Regions from separate parts of the Homo sapiens genome. Here regions 1, 2, 3, 4 and 5 are each linked to region 6. The links are contacts of gene promoters, found by promoter capture Hi-C in blood cells and fetal thymus (Javierre and others, 2016). All regions are on one chromosome and are shown on one strand. The core of a region is centred on a gene start or on the middle of the fragment in contact, and the rest is flanking DNA. Distances in the headings are between cores, read along the strand shown. Region 1 overlaps ELAPOR2 (endosome-lysosome associated apoptosis and autophagy regulator family member 2). Region 2 overlaps ELAPOR2 (endosome-lysosome associated apoptosis and autophagy regulator family member 2). Region 3 overlaps ELAPOR2 (endosome-lysosome associated apoptosis and autophagy regulator family member 2). Region 4 overlaps ELAPOR2 (endosome-lysosome associated apoptosis and autophagy regulator family member 2). Region 5 overlaps ELAPOR2 (endosome-lysosome associated apoptosis and autophagy regulator family member 2). Region 6 holds the start of DMTF1 (cyclin D binding myb like transcription factor 1).

The links. The method cuts DNA at HindIII sites, captures the fragments that hold promoters and counts their contacts. A CHiCAGO score of 5 or more calls a contact.
Region 1: a fragment that was not itself captured here is called in contact with the fragment with the promoter of DMTF1 in region 6 in 16 of 17 cell types (megakaryocytes, total CD4 T cells, naive CD8 T cells and 13 more); the score reaches 18.7 in megakaryocytes.
Region 2: a contact is called between a fragment that was not itself captured here and the fragment with the promoter of DMTF1 in region 6, in 2 of 17 cell types (naive CD4 T cells and total CD4 T cells). The highest score is 6.5, in naive CD4 T cells.
Region 3: a fragment that was not itself captured here is called in contact with the fragment with the promoter of DMTF1 in region 6 in 5 of 17 cell types (non-activated CD4 T cells, naive CD8 T cells, total CD4 T cells and 2 more); the score reaches 9.4 in non-activated CD4 T cells.
Region 4: a fragment that was not itself captured here is called in contact with the fragment with the promoter of DMTF1 in region 6 in 14 of 17 cell types (naive CD8 T cells, total CD4 T cells, naive CD4 T cells and 11 more); the score reaches 11.9 in naive CD8 T cells.
Region 5: a fragment that was not itself captured here is called in contact with the fragment with the promoter of DMTF1 in region 6 in 15 of 17 cell types (naive CD4 T cells, total CD4 T cells, total B cells and 12 more); the score reaches 18.5 in naive CD4 T cells.

What each region holds. Positions count from the first base shown.
Region 1 is chr7:86,927,089-86,930,248 of GRCh38, forward strand. All of the region lies in intron 8 of ELAPOR2 (endosome-lysosome associated apoptosis and autophagy regulator family member 2), which reads right to left. Among named protein-coding and RNA genes, the nearest start is that of GRM3-AS1, 130 kb to the left of the region's middle. The HindIII fragment of the contact is 7,378 bases long and covers 1-3,160 here.
Region 2 is chr7:87,008,965-87,012,223 of GRCh38, forward strand. All of the region lies in intron 1 of ELAPOR2 (endosome-lysosome associated apoptosis and autophagy regulator family member 2), which reads right to left. Among named protein-coding and RNA genes, the nearest start is that of ELAPOR2, 49 kb to the right of the region's middle. The HindIII fragment of the contact is 1,597 bases long and covers 1,166-2,762 here.
Region 3 is chr7:86,991,070-86,994,454 of GRCh38, forward strand. The region is part of intron 1 of ELAPOR2 (endosome-lysosome associated apoptosis and autophagy regulator family member 2); the gene reads right to left. Among named protein-coding and RNA genes, the nearest start is that of ELAPOR2, 67 kb to the right of the region's middle. The HindIII fragment of the contact is 3,371 bases long and covers 1-3,229 here.
Region 4 is chr7:86,909,792-86,912,975 of GRCh38, forward strand. It overlaps ELAPOR2 (endosome-lysosome associated apoptosis and autophagy regulator family member 2), which reads right to left. Exons shown (of 22, transcript NM_001142749.3): 14 at 3,150-3,184; 15 at 2,281-2,454; 16 at 21-210. Among named protein-coding and RNA genes, the nearest start is that of GRM3-AS1, 110 kb to the left of the region's middle. The HindIII fragment of the contact is 301 bases long and covers 1,578-1,878 here.
Region 5 is chr7:86,945,139-86,948,392 of GRCh38, forward strand. ELAPOR2 (endosome-lysosome associated apoptosis and autophagy regulator family member 2) reads right to left here. Exons shown (of 22, transcript NM_001142749.3): 3 at 2,589-2,784. Among named protein-coding and RNA genes, the nearest start is that of ELAPOR2, 110 kb to the right of the region's middle. The HindIII fragment of the contact is 3,492 bases long and covers 30-3,254 here.
Region 6 is chr7:87,151,137-87,154,319 of GRCh38, forward strand. DMTF1 (cyclin D binding myb like transcription factor 1) reads left to right here and starts at 1,317. Exons shown (of 18, transcript NM_001142327.2): 1 at 1,317-1,419. It overlaps DMTF1-AS1 (DMTF1 antisense RNA 1), which reads right to left and starts at 1,357. Exons shown (of 2, transcript NR_136253.1): 1 at 1,166-1,357; 2 at 287-522. RefSeq lists enhancers at 387-950, 866-1,105, 951-1,512. The HindIII fragment of the contact is 3,514 bases long and covers 1-2,612 here.

The sequences.
Region 1 (3,160 bases), core at 94-2,593, 220 kb before region 6:
AATGACTGTTACTTCCAAATGCTTTTACCCTAAGCTATAGGTGGCCTTCCCTCGTACACAGCATGTTCCTCATCATGAAATAACTCTTTAAAATGTAGGTAACCTGTTTATCACCCTTACTCTTCTATCCATTCATTTACTTTATTCCATAGCTGACATAAGTTTCTACGCAGCAACTTGCTTTTTCATTTTGAGACTTCCACTAACCTCTTCCTTTCCTCCAACAGCACATTTCATTATGCTTTGCACATAGCAATCACAAAAAGGTTATTTTTCAGAAAGAATATATCAAGATTCACATTTCAATCCTGCTAGTTCATAATATTGGTAGTGGTTCTCGGAGTCTTTTTCAATAACCTGATGTTAGACTACAAGAGCTGTAGCTAAAATGTTTACCCCAGAGGCTTCTAGGTCCTGATCCATGGGCTCTGAACATCATGATTAAGACAACCTCTGCCTTCAAGGAGAGCAGTCTTTTAAACTCTGCCCTTTTATTCTCTCACACTCATTCATTCACCCCCACACAAAGCAAAATATAAGAAAACAGCTGTAACTCAGTCAAACCCCAAAAGCCATTATTATCAAATTTTTATTCTCATTTTTAAACCAGAGATACCAAATGGGTTAGCCATTCGAAAACAAAATTGGTATGTTCAGTGGAGGAAAACAGAAAAGGAATTCTAAATGCAAACATAAAAATAAATCAACTATTTAATAACTAAATGCAGCATTTTTAAAAGAGACTAAAAGTTCCTTTTCTTAAACATATAATCTGCTAAAAGTATTTTTTCTCCTTTAAAACAACTTCTGCAATAGGAAGTCTGCTATTAAAGCTGGGGAATCAAAATTAAAGGCGATTGTCCATAGCTATTTCCAGTTAGTAGAAAATCATGTATAATAACTCCTTTAGGCTACCCAATTTTATTCTCAAGTATTCTTATGGAAGAGTAGATTAACTTATCTGAAGAAGGAGGCTTAAGAAAATGATTTAAAGGTAAATGTCTCAAAATAGTTATAAATAACATTTTTTCTTTTTACAACTCTCTTTTTCCATATTCATTTTTATGAGTTGCATCATGATACACTTTAACCAGCCACTTCACACACCTGCCTTTCTTACCATCTGTAAAATAATGGCTGCTCCTGCTGGGGATTCCTAAATAATTGGAAAAATAAAGGGGCTCTCAACTCCCCTTAAGAAAAGCAATATAAAATTCAGAGAATCTAAGCAAATGAAACATCATCATATTGGAGAGATTACTTTCTTAAAATTCTGGTTTAACAAGCATAGAAAACAAATTTCAAATCCTACTTAATTCCCTAATTTGCTGATTTATTTTGACATTAATACAAATGGATTGCGTTATGTGTGAGCTACTGCACTAGTGAAAGTAGTTGGTTCCCAGGTGGGAGTGGCGGGCGGTGCTGACACCCTGTACTATGTAATCTTCTTAATCACTTTGAGAGGTAGGTATTGCTATCCTCAAGTTTATAAATGAGGAAACACTCCAGATTAGAGCTCTTAATTTGCCCAAAAGTCAAACACAACTAGTAAATGGTAAAGTAACACCAGTCAACAAGAGTCAGTTTGGTAAGGGTAAAAATAATAAAATATGCAAATATATTGTGAGAAGTCAGCTAACCACATGACTTTCAATACATGCAAACTTCTTAAAAATTAAAAAATATACACCACTTTTAAATACTTAAAAATGTAGAAATCAAATTTCAAATGCTCTATAGTAAAAGTTTTATTTACAAAGCCTCTTGTTTCACATGGCAGATTGATTCTGTGCCTCTCTTTCTAATGGAGACAGATGCTTTCAAGTCTGGCTGACTAGGTAAAGATAATAATTAATATTAATAATACTTAGAACCAGAGGGCTTCCAGTGCAGATGAAAAACCAATAATCAATTCATTCTTTGGCAAGTTGAGATAAAACTATGAAATGTCTTATAAAACCAAAACCCTAATAAAGCAAAATTTACCAGTTTATTATTAAGATTACAAAAGAGATCCAGTGTCTGCATTCATATACAGCATGAAAAAAAAACCACATTTTTAAAAACACACAGAGGTATCAACTGAAAGCTGATTCTCATATAAAAACAGAACTCAGAACTGGGAGGACTACAATTTAGGCAAATTTTGAGACTGGCTTTGTCCATGGTTGTCTGATTTATTTCAGTTGTCACTTCACAAATGCACTAAGTCTTTATAAATTGGCTCAACTCATCAGGGCTAAATTACATGTGTTTTTAAAAGGTCTACCAACTGACCCTAACCTAACTGCCTTGTGCTCCATGATGTTCTGGCTCAGGTGGTCTCAGCCAAGCAGGCAATTTCTTATCTCCCAGGCTGTCTCAAACCTTGATCTTTTCCAGTTGCAAGCCACTGGGCACTCATCATTTGTCTCTCTTGGAATTACCCACACCATGCTGCCAACTTGTATCTGACTCCTCCTTCAAAGCCATGCTCAACATGTACAGTTGTGTTAAGTAGGTCGTCAGCCTGCCCAAATACATATCAGCATTCACCTACCTTCCTTTTCTATGACGGCTTTGCTGCTTTTCTCTTTTCCCATGTGTTTACCTCCTTCTCCTCTGATATGTTTTAGATTTCTGTCCCCATGCAAGTCTTATGTTGAATTGTAATCCCCAGTGTTGGAGGTAAGGCCTGGTGGGAGGTGATTAGGTCATGGGGGCAGATTTCCCCCTTGCTGTTCTTGTGATAGTGAGTTCTCATGAGATCTGGTTTAAAAGTGTGTGGCACCTCCCCCTTCTCTCTCTTCCTCCTGCTCTGGCCATTTAAGACATGCCTGCTTCCCCTTTTACCATGATTATAAGTTTCCTGAGGTCTTCTCAGCCACGTTTCCTGTACAGCCTACAGAATCGTGAGCCAATTAAACTTCTTTCATTTATAAGTTATCTGGTCTCAGGTACTTCTTTATAGGAGTGTGAGAACAGACTAACATATCCCCTAAATACTTAACAGCTTTGACCATCTTCTGCCTTTATGTGGAAGACACCATGGAAATTTAACATTTTACTGGCAGTTCAGGGCTTTAATCAAGAAAATGTTCTAAAATTAAATTGTGGTGACTATACTGAAAACACTGAATTATACTCATTGAATGAATGAATGAATGATATGGTATGA
Region 2 (3,259 bases), core at 714-3,213, 140 kb before region 6:
GAAAACAATACATAAGAAACAGTTGTACACTGGATTTATGACAATTTGAAGGAGAGAACATACCTGAATTCACTGACTGATGAATTTAAAAAAATTAGATCCCTAATTTTGTTAAGCAATGCTGAGCAAAAAACAAAACAACGACAACAAAAACCACCTATGAGACATGGTATGTATCTTCCTTATAGAATAGATAAGACATAAATGCAACTAACCATCAAGCAAGGTGAATTTTGATAATTACTACAAAAACCGTACAAAGTTTAAAGGGCAAAGAGCACATTTAGCTCAACCTGGGAGATCCCACAGTGGCTTGGAAGAGGAAGTAGAGATTCAATCTATGGAAAAGATTTCAATATACATAATAGAAACAGGGAATGAACCACAAAGGTGTTTTACACAGACAGAACATTAGGAAGAAGGACACTAAGAAACAAATTACAGGATTTATCACAACAACTGAAAAGAGACAGTTTGCCTTGGGAATAGAGAGTAAGAGAAAATACTTGAAAAACAGTTTGAGGCCAGATCATTGAAGAGTTTTGAATGCCAGAGGTACATAAATTTAATATAGTCAGTGGAGTACCCCAGTGTTTTGGGATTAGGAAAGGTAGTGAAATAATGGCTATTTCAAAAATAAAATCAAGTAAGAGGCTAACCCAACAGTACAGAAAAGCAGGAATAAAGATCTGCACCAAAAGGAAGCAGAAGAAGACTGGTGTTTCCAAATCCTTTCTCTGGCTTTCTCACCTCTAGCAATAAAAAGGCCCAAGGTAACCACTGGTTGTCAAGCAGGCTAATAAGTATTTAGAATGCTCACAAAGCATTTTACAAGTTCATCTTTAAAGAAAGCTATTAACACCCTCCACAGTACAACGAGGGTTATTTGTATGAATTTATTAGCTCTTCTGTTTTTCTCCAGTAAACCTAAAAAAGCTTTAAAGAACATCCTTTAAAATCTGTATATAAAATTCTTTTTATAAACACTACCTTTGAAGGTCTTTCCAGGTAAACTCATTACGAAAGAAAGAAAGAAAGAAAAAAAGTCCAAGTTCAAACCATTCTATTTCTCTAGAGGTCTCTTTTCCCAGTTTCAGAAATAAAATCTGTGCCTGTGGCTATTGTCAAACTTTACAGTGGAATTTACATTTAATATTTCCTACAAAGCTTCAGTCTACAACTGATTATAATTCTTAGAAACAAATACATTGTATTCCAATGGGAGAAAAACTAAAAGCAAAATTCTTAATACTCTCCACCCACACCAATAGTTTTGTCAGCTTTCCAGTTGGAAATCTTTGAAACTGGGATTCAAGTAGAGCTAAACTGATTTAACAGATATAAATGGAGTCAAATAAATCTCCAACGTAGGAAGTGAAAATGTACTATCAGAAGTACTACCTATGTCTTTCATCAGTGTTCATATTAACACAGAACTAAAATTATAGGCTACATAGGGGAAGACTAAGCATCCTCTAGCATTTCAGAAAAAAACAATGAATTCTGATACATTTCTATGCATTTCTACTGAAGGATCACTAAAAACTTTTAAAATGTGAGTTTCTCTAAGAATTTCTATTGTTTTTTAGAGCTGGCAGAAGAGATGACCCTTTGAGTAGAACAGAGAAGAGCCTTGTTCTGCTGCTGTCTTTACCATTTCTCTAGGGATATTATAGCACAATCTGCACAATTCACAGACAGGTACTATTATAGTTTAAAAACATAAAGCCAGTGAAAATTCTATGTTAAGACAATACCTGCACTGTTTAGGGAATAATGACAAGAAAAAAATCCTTACATGTTCAGGACAGATGCCATTTTTTTTTTCAAATAGTTTCAATCTGAGGTTGGTTGAATCCACAGATGTGCAGCCCACAGATACAGAGGAACCACTATATACATAATTTTACATTGTCCAAGTTTATATGAGTAAAATGTTACTTTTAAAATAAAGGCTTTGGAAAATAAAAAAATGTCAGCACTGTCCTGGATTAGATAAATTTTTAAAAAGAAAATATACCGACCAGGTGCAGTGGCTCACACCTGTAATCCCAGCACTTTGGGAGGCCAAGGCGGGCGGGTCATGAGGTCAAGAGATCGAGACCATCCTGGCCAACATGGTGAAACCCCGTCTCCACTAAAAATACAAAAAAATTAGCTGGGCATGGTGGCACGTGCCTGTAGTCCCAGCTACTCGGGAGGCTGAGGCAGGAGAATCGCTTGAACACGGGAAGTGGAGGTTGCAGTGAGCCAAGATGCATGGCGACAGAGCGAGACTCCATCTCAAAAAAAAAAAAAAAAAAAGAAAAGAAAAAGAAAATACACCACCACAAAACATGTTTGCAAATGAACAATTGACTTCATGCTGCATTAAACAAAGTAATAAAGGAGAGAACCTTTCCTAGACTGAATCCATGTCTGTATACCTGAAAATAGCATCCAGCTTTTTAAAACTCCTAATACTACTGAATGCTCTGGTAATATTCGGTTCTTATTGATAGTAACAAACTTTAAAATAATTCATACTTGAGTAATAATTGCAGATATTTATAACTCTTTTTAATACAAATACTCAGTACAATTTTTCCGTTTCAGTGAGTTCACAAAATTGCCAACTGGCTTAACATTGTTGTATAAAAAATACAGCCTTGTTTATCCAGCTTTTACCAACTTGGTGTCTTGGGAGCTTTCACAGAAGCACATAACAACCACCTATAATGAGAAATGTGTTGGTGGGTCACTAGGGAGTTGATCATTGAATAAGCTTTTCATATTTCTTTACTTTCTAACAATATTAAAGGTATATTTATAGGAGGGGAAGAAAGATGACAGAAACAAAAGACAGGGTCTATATGTTTTAAATATTCAGCATAACATCTGTACCAGCTATATATTATATACTTCTGAATAGAAATATAAGCTATAAATGCAAGTCACATGTGTAATTTTAAGTTTTCTAGTAGTCACATTAAAATGATTTTAAAAACAGGTAAAATTAATTTTAATAATATATTTTAACTTGATACCATTTGAACAGTAACAATATAAAAATATTAATGAGAAACTACATTCTTTTATTGTACTAAATAATCTAAATCCAATGTGTATTTTACACATATAGCACACTTCAATTTGAAATAGCCACATTTAAAGTGGTCAATATCTGGCCGGGCGTGGTGGCTCACACCTGTAATCCCAGCACTTCGGGAGGCCAAGGTGGGCAGATCACAAGGTCAGGAGATTGAGACCATCCTGGCCA
Region 3 (3,385 bases), core at 294-2,793, 160 kb before region 6:
TATGGATGGACAGATTTATTTATAAATGTATATTTATATCCATCACATATAATAACAAGCAATGAGCACTACAGGTAAGATACAGATTAAGGGCTATCAGTCCCAAGAACTACCAAAGTGCCTTCACAGACTTGGCACAGAGCAGCTTTGTGGGTGACCATATCAGGTGATTGATGTATCAGGTGAATGTTGATGATTTATTTTACAGTTGAAGGAACAAGCATATCCATGTTATTTAATAACTGTGTTACTGAATAGCTGGCCAGTCAAACATTCCACTGGGTCAAACATTCCAAGACACCTTGCTCCCAAGGCTGAGGTCTCATCTAGTATACAACATTGTTCTCTTTCCAGTAAAATTGGTTCTCACCTCCAGATTTCTTTGTTTCTAGTGATATTACCATCATAGATGTGGTCTACCAGAAGAATTTACAGTCTTCTACTTTCAAAACACACACACACATGACTTTTCTGATTATGAAAGTAATTAGTAAGTTATTGTTGACAGTTGAGAAAATTTGCCCCAACTCTATTATACCAGGGCAGTCACTGGAATAAGCCAGGCAGTTCAGAGCCAGTTTGTTCAAGCAAGAAACAAGCAGTCCAGAGCTTGTTTAAAGGCTCCATGAAGTCATGAGGCTCCTTCTGTCTTCCTGCTTTATCTCTCTTGGCTTCCATCCTCCAGGTCACCTCAGCATCCAAGGTGGCTGCTAATGTTCCAGCCATTATATTCATGTGACAGTCAGCAAGACAAAATTAACTAAAGAGAAAGTAGAGAATGTGTGCTCTCCCTCTTTTAAAGAGCCTTCTTGAAAATCCCATCTGAAGCATCTGTTTACATTTCATTTGCCAGAATTTAGTCAATGACCACAAGCTATAAAGAAGCCTGGGAAAGGGTGCTTTAACTAGGCATGTTGCCCAGGTTTCTGTCACTAAGGAAAATGGGGATAATAGATATTGAAAGCAAATTACATCATATGCTTTTTCCAATGCATAAATCAAAATAGTGTCATCAATACAGGAAAGGGAAGTAAACTGCTGCTACAACAGGAAGCTGATTTTTTTATGGCTCCTGGCTAGGCCTGGTAGCTAACATCTGTAATCCCAGCACTTTGGGAGGTCAAGGCGGAAGGACTGCATGAAGTCAGGAGTTTAAGACACCCAACCCCCAACCTGGGCAAAACCCTATCTCTATGAAAAAAGTTTAAAAATTAGCTGAGCATGGTGGTACATGCCTGTAGTTCCAGCTACTTGGGAGGGCTGAGGCAGGAGGATTACTTAAGCCTGGGAGTTTGAGGCTGTAGTGAGCTATGATCGTGCCACTGCACTCCAGCATGGGCAACAGAGCAAGATTCTTGTCTCAAAAAAAAAATAGCTCCTAATAAATTTCTTAAACTGAGTATTCCAAGATATCAAAAAATAGCTCCTAATAAAAGAAATTCCTAAAACTGAGTTTTCCAAGATATAATTCTAGAATCTTCAGTCGAGATCAAATCCAAATAAAATGGATATTTATCATTACCTTATACTAAATAAGTTGGACCCACATTATTTCCTAAACTACATTCATATGAAAAAAATAGGAAAAAGCAACTTTAACTAAGCTCTAATCTGTCCTCTCTGTCTTTCCCAGTAGAGTCTGATCACATTAAATGAAAAGGTGAATTTATTTCTATTCATGCTACTATGGGGACAAAATTATAAAAAGAAGTTTGTCAAATGTCTTAACTGATGTTCTGATTCAAAATAGCTAGAATGTTCAATTTTGGAATCCTTCATCGATTTGAAAATAGTTAAGGAATGTCATGATCATGATCCTCTATCATCTTAAAAAATGCAACAACTATAAAAACTACAGAGATTCACTGAAAGTATAAAGAAAATCTTGCCGGGCGTGGTGGATCACACCTATAATCCCAACACTTTGGGAGGCCGAGGCGGGTGGATCACGAGGTCAAGAGATCAAGACCATCCTGGTCAACATGGTGAAACCCTGTCTCTACTAAAAATACAAAAATTAGCTGGGCGTGGTGGCGCGCACCTGCGGTTCCAGCTACTCAGGAGGCTGAGGCGGGAGAGTTGCTTGAACCCGGGAGGCGAAGGTTGCAGTGAGCCAAGATCGCACCACCGTACTCCAGCCTGATGACAGAGCGAGACTCCATCTCAAAAAAAAAAAAAAAAGAAAAAGAAAAGAAAAGGAAAGAAAAAGAAAAAAGAAAATCTTACAAAATGAAGTGACTGGAACCCAGAACTGAGTTCACTTAACCATCCTGCAGTAATCACATACCACACAATAAGCACTAGGAATATGACAGTGAATGAGACATAGCCCTGCCCTCTAGAGGAACAAATAGAGGAATCAAAGAGATGAGTTATTTCAATACAATACAATACCATTATTACTGAGTGAAGAAATCCAAAAGGAGGAAGAGAATTAGCCATCTAGGTTATTAAAATAAGAGGAATCTTACAAATATTTGGAGGACAGCAAATTACCTACTGATGCTGATAAATCTCTTTTGAAAGACTGTTTTACATTAAGGTTGAGTTAAATTAGAATTATACTACTGCCTTTCATTTTCTTTTACCAAAAATGGATGATAAAACTGTAATTGAAACTGTTAATGTCCAAACCACTTGCTGATCATTCCAAATCCTCTATAATCTAGTCCTGAAAGCCTTCTCAAAATCCAACTTGTACACAATCCCAACACTCCAGACAAACTAGTTTAATTACTAACTTCTAAATGAATCACAAGTTCATGTGTTCCCTCTATTATGGACAAGTTTCCTCTACTCACCACATACAACACACACATACAGCCCATTCAGCTAAATTACTCTCTTCCTATGAACCTATTCAATACCTCTCCTCAATTGAATCTTTTCCAAATCAAAATCTCTCTTTGATCTCTTTGAGCCTTTTAACCTATGCCACTGACATCATTCCTCAGATTTCCTTTCTTATTGCAAAACTTATATTCCTGGCCAAATTTTAATCTCTTTGGGAGCAGGTATTTAGTCTTATATCTCTTTGTAATCCTCTAAGCCTAGTAGCAGATCTGTTTAATGAATATTGATACTTTCAGTAATTATCTGTCATATCCCTTTACTTTATACACAGAGGGAAGGGCAAAAACATAACCTCAGAAATGAGATGCCCACTTGAGAAATGAAGAAACAACATTAGAGTTTCCTTTCTTCCAAACACACAGAGTTGACAAAGATAAGCTTAAAACAGTCTCTTGATTTAGGAGGTATAACAATGAGTAAATAAAAGTCATTTATCAAGTGCTTCGGAATTTCTAGATAAACATTGTCAAGTTAGTAATGTATAAGATCATCATCAATCATCTTAGATGCTTAAATCATGTGGCAAAATGTA
Region 4 (3,184 bases), core at 478-2,977, 240 kb before region 6:
ATGAACCAAAGGAAGCTTACCTATGAATGTATCTGCCAGAATGATGGATTGTGATGATAAGGCTGCTCGGAAACCCTTACTTTCAGAAGGAATAATTGTTGACTGGCATACAAATGCCCCTACCAAATTTGTGTAATCATCTGACCCTGCCACTATTTCTTTTACTGTAAAGTCTGTTATATTGTTGGTACAGAGAGCCATCTTCTTCCCCTAGGAAAATAAAGTCATAAAAGAAAGGTTTTATTGGATGTCAATCTCTAAACTTAATCTTGACTAGCTAGTGACCCTAGAAGAGCAGTGGCTCTCTCCTCACTGCAAGGATTCTGATTTAGTTGATCTGGTATGAGGCCTAGCCACCCATCAGTACTTTTTAAAAGCTCTCAAGGAAAGTCCAATATTCAACCAAACTTCAGAGTCTACAGTTATAACAAATACAGTAATTCAAGACTATACTGCTCTTCCCAGTACAAGCATCATTTGTGATAAATGAAAGTCATCAAACTTGAGAAAATAAAAGTAATCTATGAAATGTTCAATTCATAGAGTAACAATGCATGCAAAAAGACCAGAAAACTGCTGATGAAAGCTTCAGTGTCAAAGAAAAAGTGTTGGTCTTCCTTTTCCTTTATGACCCTATGTGTAGCAGAAAGGTAATGTGAAGGCTAAAGAAGAAAGCACAAAAGTCATACTGCAGCAAAATTCTAGAATAACACCTGAATTCTAAATAATTGGTCACTACAAGTGTCTTTATTAACCTACTCTTAGTTTCAATGATGTGTATCTGTTCAACTGTATAACAAGTTAAAGGTAATAGAGAGATTAGCTTTTTTAATAATTTTGAAAATAATTGGAAGATATAACTTATAAAAAATGGAAAAATTGTTTAAATATAATATGTTTAAATTTACTGTAGTCCTACTGCAAAAGACTATAGCTTGCTCCATAATTTCTACAAAGTAAATGTAAAAATAATACAGGAAAACTATTTCATTGGTGTTAGATATAGAGTGTACACAGATGTGTAAAAAGAAAAGTATAAAAGTTTATCTTTCTTAATGCAGCTAGCAGACCTAACCTATAAATTTTTCTCCTGCTACCAGGCCTTCTGACAATAGGCCTTCTCACCAGTATATTTTTTTTACTAGGCTTAAATTAAAATGTTGAAGCCAATAAAAAATAATGGAAAAGATCAGAGAAAAGGTACTGGGGAAAGAAAAAGGAAAATAGTGGAAGCTAAAAGGAAAGAAACAAGAATAAAAAGGAAGGAAAGAGATAGAAGCTAGAGGTGAAGAGAAGAGAAGGTGGAAAAAGAGGTAGTGCTAATGTACAATAAGATTGTGATAGAAGTATGGTAGACAATGGAATTAATCTTATTCACTGCTTCCCACAGTATCTGGCACATAACAGGTATTTAATTTATATTTATTGAGTGAACTGAGTAACCAATCTAGTGAGTGTCTTGGATCACCCCAGGTAAAATCAAAACAGGACAGCTGTCATACTATGTAAAATTTTATGGATCTTTTTGTTTGAAAACTTCTGTGGTCATCAGATCTCTTTTTGTTTCCTTTGTTCAAAGCTTTGCACAGTATCTCATAATGAAGACAATTGAAAATATAGGAGTTAATATGGGAAGTGACATGGAGGAAATGCCTTATCCTGTTCCTACTCTGTAGGTATATACCTATACATACTTCCCAACCCTAACCTCATATGTCCATTAAAATATTGGGCATCATGGTCCTGTAACCTCTCCCCATTGCCAGTATCAATTAAGATTCCTCTTCTTCTCACAGCAAATAAAATCCCATTTGTATGATTTAAGCCTACCTTATCAACTGATATTTGGCCCTGCATGTCTCCTTTTTATTTTGGACAAGCTTCCTCTTGAAAGTCTTTTTCTTCTTAAAACACAAAATTGACAACATAAACAACAGTAAAACTTTCTCAAATAACTTCCTGCCTAAAGAGGTAAGATTGACAACCCTGACCCATTTTTATGAAAACAAAACATCCTCAAAGCACTTACACCATAGCTCCAAGCTTCAGGTTTCAACTGACTGCATAAGTGATTTGATACACTGAGAACCAGACAAGGTTGCCCCTGGTGGAGAAATCTGCCAATATTCTAGGCAGCAATAGAGGATCTAAGCAATCAAACCTCAGTTTCTGACACTTGGTTGATATCCATAGAGAATTTATTGGTCCATTAACACAGAAAATATCAACTTGATCGGAGCTGAAATATAGGTCCATCTCACCTTGACAGCCAGAACTCACCTCATGCCCACATAAACTGATATTGAAGAAATGGAAGTATTTTGTTCCTTTGGAGGTGAAGCTGGGGCCATTCATTAATGAGCCCACACTGCTGAGGTTGCTAAAGTCATAGTGCAAACTCTGATTTTCTTTTTCATGGTAGAAAAAGCAGTCACTATAGCAAACCGAATGGTCCTTTGATTAAAGATAAAGAAACAATATAGCAGGAAAGAAAATATTAGCTGCTACTAAAATGTGTTTGAAAAAAGTTCTAGGTATAAAAACTATTCCAGTAATTTAGTCTTAGCTATAATATACTTTACCATACTAATATAAAGAATTTCTAAACTCTAACTAGATTTTTCTAAACAAAGTTCAGAAAATTCAGAATCTTTTAAAGACAGAGTAAAGTTATCCTCAAGTTTGTTCCTTGTAGAAAGGTATTTTAAGAAATAGCCAAAATTCTGTTACGTAAATTTAAACAGACAGTAAAAGTGCTTTGTCCTTCACTCATAATATGGCATCAATCTTTGCCATTCAAAATTATAAGAAACACTAGCTGTTCCCAGATGACTGCTATAGCCAGCCTATAGATAGGTAGTTTATTTGCTGTACCTAAACAATACACAAGAAATCAGTTTTAATATTTTGGAAAAGCATTCTTATTTGGGAGCTTTTAATATTTTATGTCACCAGTAACTAGTACTTTCATAGCATACAGTAAGTGTTTAATAAACGCAAGAAGGGAGAAAACAGAAATGGTAAGTAGAAAGTCTTATTTCAGAATAAATAGCAACCTCATAGCTCCCAGAGAAACATTAAGGAGAACGCTTGAATTTCTCTATTAAAATGTGCTTTCATGGGGATACCTGAAATGCAGACCCACTTACCTGATTGTTTTTACTCCCAGGCCCGCATGGAATAC
Region 5 (3,254 bases), core at 526-3,025, 210 kb before region 6:
ATCAGCAAAGTACAGCAGAAAACACCAGAAGCTTTTCCAGACTCAAAGGCCAACTTTATTACTGAGAAGAGGTCCATTTCTTATGGCAAATAACTTCGTAAATCTTTTTAAGGTTATATGATTAATCTGCTAAGAAATTGTTATTTTTCACCCAAAATTTGATTACCAAATAGATGATAACTAATTTTAGTAGCCTTAGATGGAATTATTCTTTCAGATATCTGCAGTTTTATTTGTAAACCCATACACATGGCAAATCTATGGAAGGGGAGAAAGAGCACCATTAATGATAAATACGTAGATTAACATATAAAGCTATATTTTTTCACCTTAATTTTTTAGGAAGCTGTGTGTCATGTGAAATGAACTTGTCAGTGATGGACTTGGCTTTGAGTTCCTAAATCTTTGTAAGGTTATTTTAAAAGCAACTAATTATTTAAAACATAATACCATTGTATTGTAGGGTTTATAACATGTTTCTAAATATATGGCAATAGTATGAAGATAAGGGTATAGATGTAACTATGCTGTTGTAAAATTTAACATTATATAAAGGTACAATAATAACTCTATGTTACCATAAGGATGCATACAGTAATTTCTAGCCTTTGCAACCTGGGGTTAGCAAAGATATCCTAACATATGACCACAGCAGAAAAAAATAATAAATTGTATTCTTTCAAATTTTAAACTTCTGCTTATCAAAGGACACTATTAAGAAAACAAAAAAGGCAAAAACCACAAATTGGGAAGAAGTGTTACACACACATGGAGACGTGTGTATGTGTATGTGCACATACTATATATTTATTATATAAATATATACACATAAGAACCCATGCCCAGAATGTACAGGAACTCCTTCAGCTTAATAATCAAATGACCAAAAAAAAGTAGAGAATGGGCAAAACAATTTGACTTCACAAAAGTTAATAAACACATGAACAATAAACACATGAAACATGTTTGACATTATTATCCAGCAGGGAAATGCAAATTAAAACAAAGGGATACCATTTCTCACACACACACACACACACACACACACACACGTGTGCATACACTGGAAAGCCTAGGGCTAGAACAAAACAAGACTTAACAATACAAATGTTGGTAAACATGTAGAATAACTAGAACTAAAATATACTACTGGTGGGAGTCTACAATGATATAACCATTTTGAAAAGCTCAGACTTTTTAGAAAGTTCAACATACATCTCCTATATGACACAACTAATTAAAGAGAAATAAAAAGTATGCAAAAGTGGACGGAGTTTTGCTCTTGTTGCCCAGACTGGAGTGCAATGGTGCGATCTCAGCTCACCGCAACCTCTGCCTCCAGGGTTCAAGTGATCCTCCTGCCTCAGCCTCCAGAGTACCTGGGATTACGGGCACCTGCCACCACGCCAGGCTAATTTTTGTATTTTTAGTAGAGATGGGGTTTCTCCATGTTGGTCAGGCTGGTCTTGAACTCCCAACCTCAGGTGATCCGCCTGCCTCGACCTCCCAAAGTGCTGGGATTACAGGCATGAGCCACCGCCGCACTGGCCCAGACTCAAATTTACACTGAGAAAATTACACTAGAAAACACTACATTGAAAAACTTCCGCTTACTCGATTTCTTTTATGCATAAACTATTCCAGGCAGAAAAAGAAGCCTTGTCAGTATCTCCTGCCCACCAAAACAAAGATCTGAGGTCCCACAACATCCTACTAGTACCTTCCTCTAAGGAACTCTTTTACTTAAAACACACACTCTCTCAAGGAAATAATCCTATTATCGAGAGATTAAAATAAAGAAATTGGCATCATTTGGCAAAAAGACAGCTAGAGTGAAAGGAAGGAAGAAAGGAAGGGAGGGAGGGAATGAATATGCCTTTCAACACAGCTAAATAATTCCCCAGCATCCTTAGCTTATGGTAAAAATGTGGGGTTCCTGAGAGGCTACTCTTGTCAGGGGGTAGCCAGAGCCCTAAAGTTGAATTCTCCTAAGCAAATCCATATGAAAGGAAATGTTACATAATTAATACAAGGGAACAGGAAGGGATATAGCTCAAAGACAAACATTTTGTTTTGTTTTTTTCAAAACAGTTTAACATTTCTCCAGCTTTGTCATATGCAAAGCTAATAATCCCCTATAAAAGAGGTAGGAATTAAGCAAAGGCGCTTTCCACCTTAGGTACTTAACCCACTCTCTTTTATAGGAGATAATCAAGTGTCTAAATGAAGGTTATGAATTCTTCCTGTCAGAGGAAAATAAAAAAACCTGAAAGTATCTGTTAAAAATCAGAAAAAGGTTAGTAGAAACACCAGTGGCTTAAATGTAGTTATAAATATGAGAAAATTAATTTGCTTCTCTAACAGCTTTATTGCATTTTTGCATACAGTGTCTATTATATCCTGAGGGCAATGATTTTAACCTCATGAAAACTCATTGCAATGACCGTCCAAAAAACATGATTCTTTGCAATTAGCTTATCTATCACCACAAACAGTACCAAGATTATCCTCATCTTCTTTCTGGAAAAGAGCAACTACTTTCTTCTCAAATATTCAGTTAAGAGCCAAAGGCTGCTTTGGATTCTTACTTGTTACAGCCGTCTGGCCTGCTGTCAGAAGGGCCCACCACAGTGTCCATGAATGTTGCGATGTTAGAAAATCCTGCCGGCAATTCATCCCATTCATCAAATTTGATGCCACTGCCCAAGGAATAGGTGCCTTCACCACACTTACTGCATACCTGGTTCTTCATTTCTAGATACTCTCCAGAAGCACAGGAGAAAGCTGGAAGGCAGAAGAATGGACAACCCATTACTTACCCTCCCATCAATTTCCTCCCCTTCATGCTGTCACCAGAATTATTTTTATAAAACTCTGATTGTGCCACACTCAAACGAAAGCCTTTCAAATTCCTCTTATCACTACATGCATTTCACAATCTGGTTCCAACCTATTTTTCCAAGCTCACCCTTTGCCCCACCCTCTTCCAGCCAAAACAGAATTCCTATCATTCCCAAAATATTTCATCCTCTCTCCTGCTGTTGTGGTCTTCTTTCCTACAAGATAGATGTTGGCCAATCCTACCTTCTCTACATGGAACACTCCTGTTCTCAACTCAAAAACCACTCACTTCATAACAGATCCCTTCCCCTGGCCCAATGGGCAGTCAGTTGTACCTCCCTTTATGGTCCTACAGTGCACTTGTTATAATACCTCCATTAAAGCACTTAATTTATGCTAATCAGTGGATAAGC
Region 6 (3,183 bases), core at 67-2,566:
TCCATGCAAACTACGCTGTCTACAATATTCTGGAAGGTACATCTTATTACTCCTAAAGTAAACAAAGCTAAAAGAGGTGAAGTGCCATATCCACTACTAAGAAATGGAGCCAAGATTCACACTCAGGTCTGACTGCCTGAGTCCATACCACGATACTATTCTGCCTCATAGTTTTGCTTACATAAACATTATTATGTACTTATTAAAAAATGGAATGATACACGGCTTAACTCCAACAGAATGCAGAGTGCCACAAATTAGTAATAAAGTTATCAACACAAGAAAATGCTGCTTCTGAGATTTATTTTTGAAAATTAGTCAAACATGTCGATCCTCCAGTAAAGCAAAGCATTTGTAAACTGGTTGTAATCATTTGTTTTCGTTATGAAAGTACTGCCAAAGTGTATTTTGTGAACTGCAACCGGGTAGTTCAGAACACAGGCTTTGGAGCTGAGGCTTCAATTCTAATTCCACCGCCAACTTGGGAGCCCTTGGACACATTCCTTCACTTCTCTTTGGTTCCTGTGTAAAATGGGATTCATTTGTAATAATTGTAGCGATGCACTTAGAACTTATGAACATTAAATGAGTTTAATATACGTAAAACATTTACCTGTCACATACGCACTCAAAGAATGCTGGCTCACATTACAGAACCCAAAGGCTTATTTATCCTTTTCGTTTATAAGGGTATTAAAACGCGTTTTCTATTTAGGATGGGTTTATACGGCTGCAACCCAAGGAGCATCTGTACTTTTAAGAGGAACTGGGCACAGCAAAACAGCATCTTCCTAGTCTAACAGTGAGACTACATTCACAGAGGACACATTTCATCAAGAACGACTTAACACGCCCAGATATCTCATATTATGCCCCTGCGGTAAGGCAAATCAAGTATGAAGACACACACTCCCTGTTTTCTTCAGCACTGAGATCACTGGTTCCCTCCGTTCCACACCGCGGCTCCCTCGGCTCGGAGCCACAGGGAACTATGAAAATCGGCACGCGAGGCCTAAGTGTCCCCAGAACCAGAGGAACCACAGTTGCGTCATAGCAGAAGGACCTCTTTTACAGCATCAGCAGTGGGATAGTCAGTGCCGAGTTTTCCTGGCAGGACAGCCGACAACCACCGCCACAGACCAGTACAAACATTCCAACCCAGGACCTTTTTTCGCGCGCCGACACAGCCGGAAGTGACGCGTACAGCCAGCACGCTGGGCCGCCAGCGGGACAGACGAGCGGGAGGGGCAGCGTGCGGGGAGCTGGGGGCGGGGCGCGGCCGCAGCTCCGTTTCCGGTGGCTCGTCGCGCTCGCTCACTCCAGCTGCAGCCACTCTCGCCCGTGGCTGCTTCCTCCATCCTGGTATTTTTTGGAGCTTCCATCCTGGTTCTTCCAAAGTGCCCGGACCCAAAACAGGAAGTAAGTGCGATGGAACCTTCAGGTTCCAACCGCCGCCAGGGCCGCTCCGCCCAGTGGAGCCTGTCCGGCCCCCTTGCTGCCCGCTAGCTCCCGCCGGCTGGCGCAAGCTGTCGGCGCCGGGGCACTGCGGGCGGGGTCGGAGCCTGGCCTTCCTGACGTTGCAGCTGCCGTCCCCGCACGTTCCGGCCAGGGCCTCCCTCTTAGGGCCGGGCGGTGCCCGTGGCTCAGGCTGCAGAGTAGGGAAGCGAGCGGCTGCCGAGGCACAGCGGCGATCCGGCGGGGGCGGAAAATGGCGGCGGCTTCGGAGGAGCTAAATGGCGCCGGGACCCCTGGGGGGTGGGGTGGGCCGGGAGGTTGAGTAGAGAACTGGGCCAGAAGGAGTGGAGACAGTAAGGAAGCCCTACTTGTTTTCTCGTGGTGTTCTATTTTTAGTTTTTATTTTTGTTACGTTTTCGGTTTTGTTTTATGGTCCAGCGTAGGAGAGGTAGGCTTGGGTGGGGTCGAGAGAGTGGGGGTGGGTCTCGACCCAACTTCCCCCCCTTTGCTTTTTTGTTCTTTTCCCTCGTTTGCGCTTTAGATTCTTCTGTAATTTTGCGGGGGTTCAGCCTTGCTCGGCGATTCACGGCCCAGACATAGAGAATCGGGATAGCTGGCCGAACCGTCTCTCTCAGTCTGACTCTCTTTAAAGAAGGGATGTGGGCTGGGGCGCGGGGACAGTCCTGGTGGAGCACGGAAAATGCGGCTGTAAAGTTGTAATTACCCTATTGTGCCGAGTTCCGAGAAAGTTCTTAAAATTGTTAAGTCCACTTTGTTCTCTAAAATGTACTTCGCTTTGAGAATTTCTTCAGGGAGGTATGTAGAATGTTTTACCACAATCTCCAGAGCAGATTTGAGAGTAGAAGTGGCCAAGTGCCCTTTTGTGCAATTGAATGATAGAGCATATGTCTTTATATAAAATACTCGGTGTAGATAAGGAAAAGGATAATAGTATACAGTATGAGTCAGGACTCCTCCCTTTCTCTCATTGAATTTGTGTAGTTGCTTTTTTCGCAACTCATTCATCTTTGTGTACCTCTTTTTAATGTACATGGATTTGATTATGTGTGCCTCCTTTCTGACAGTCGAGGCTGCATGTTGGGACGTCCTACAAAATGCATATTCTGTGGAATTATTTTTTAATATGACATGTCTTAAGCTTAAAGTGACGCCATTTGGAAAATTTTAAATTATACCTGTATTTTTAATTCGTGGGAGAAAACCATTTGTAGCTTTTAAGCTCCAAATACGAAAATATTCTTCCACTATGTTGAAAGTATTGCAAAATCTGTTTTTTTCAGTTAAGGGTTTTCATGTTTTTTCATTACTTCAAATTTCTTTAAGCTGGTTTTGAAATTATATTTCAAATAGCTTTCTGAGGATTACTGTCTTTTAATAACTTGAATAATTTGCCATCACTTTAACATTTAAAGAATGACTATGGCGATACACCAAAATCTTATCTTTTTGCTCTTATGGTGTACTTAGAGACAGGATTTCATGTATTTGGTTAGGATTTAGAAATTCTGTTAAGATTTAGAGAAAAAAGGTTAAAGCTACATTCCTTAACGTTACAAAAATTGTCATGCTGAGAGAATCCAATTTGGTGTGAGAATAATTTTTTTCTTCCATACAGAAAGCACAAAAACCAGCCTGATTGTATCTGGAAAAAACCATTATGTTACAGGTGTGAAAAATACATTTCATGATTGTGGTGATTTTTATCTC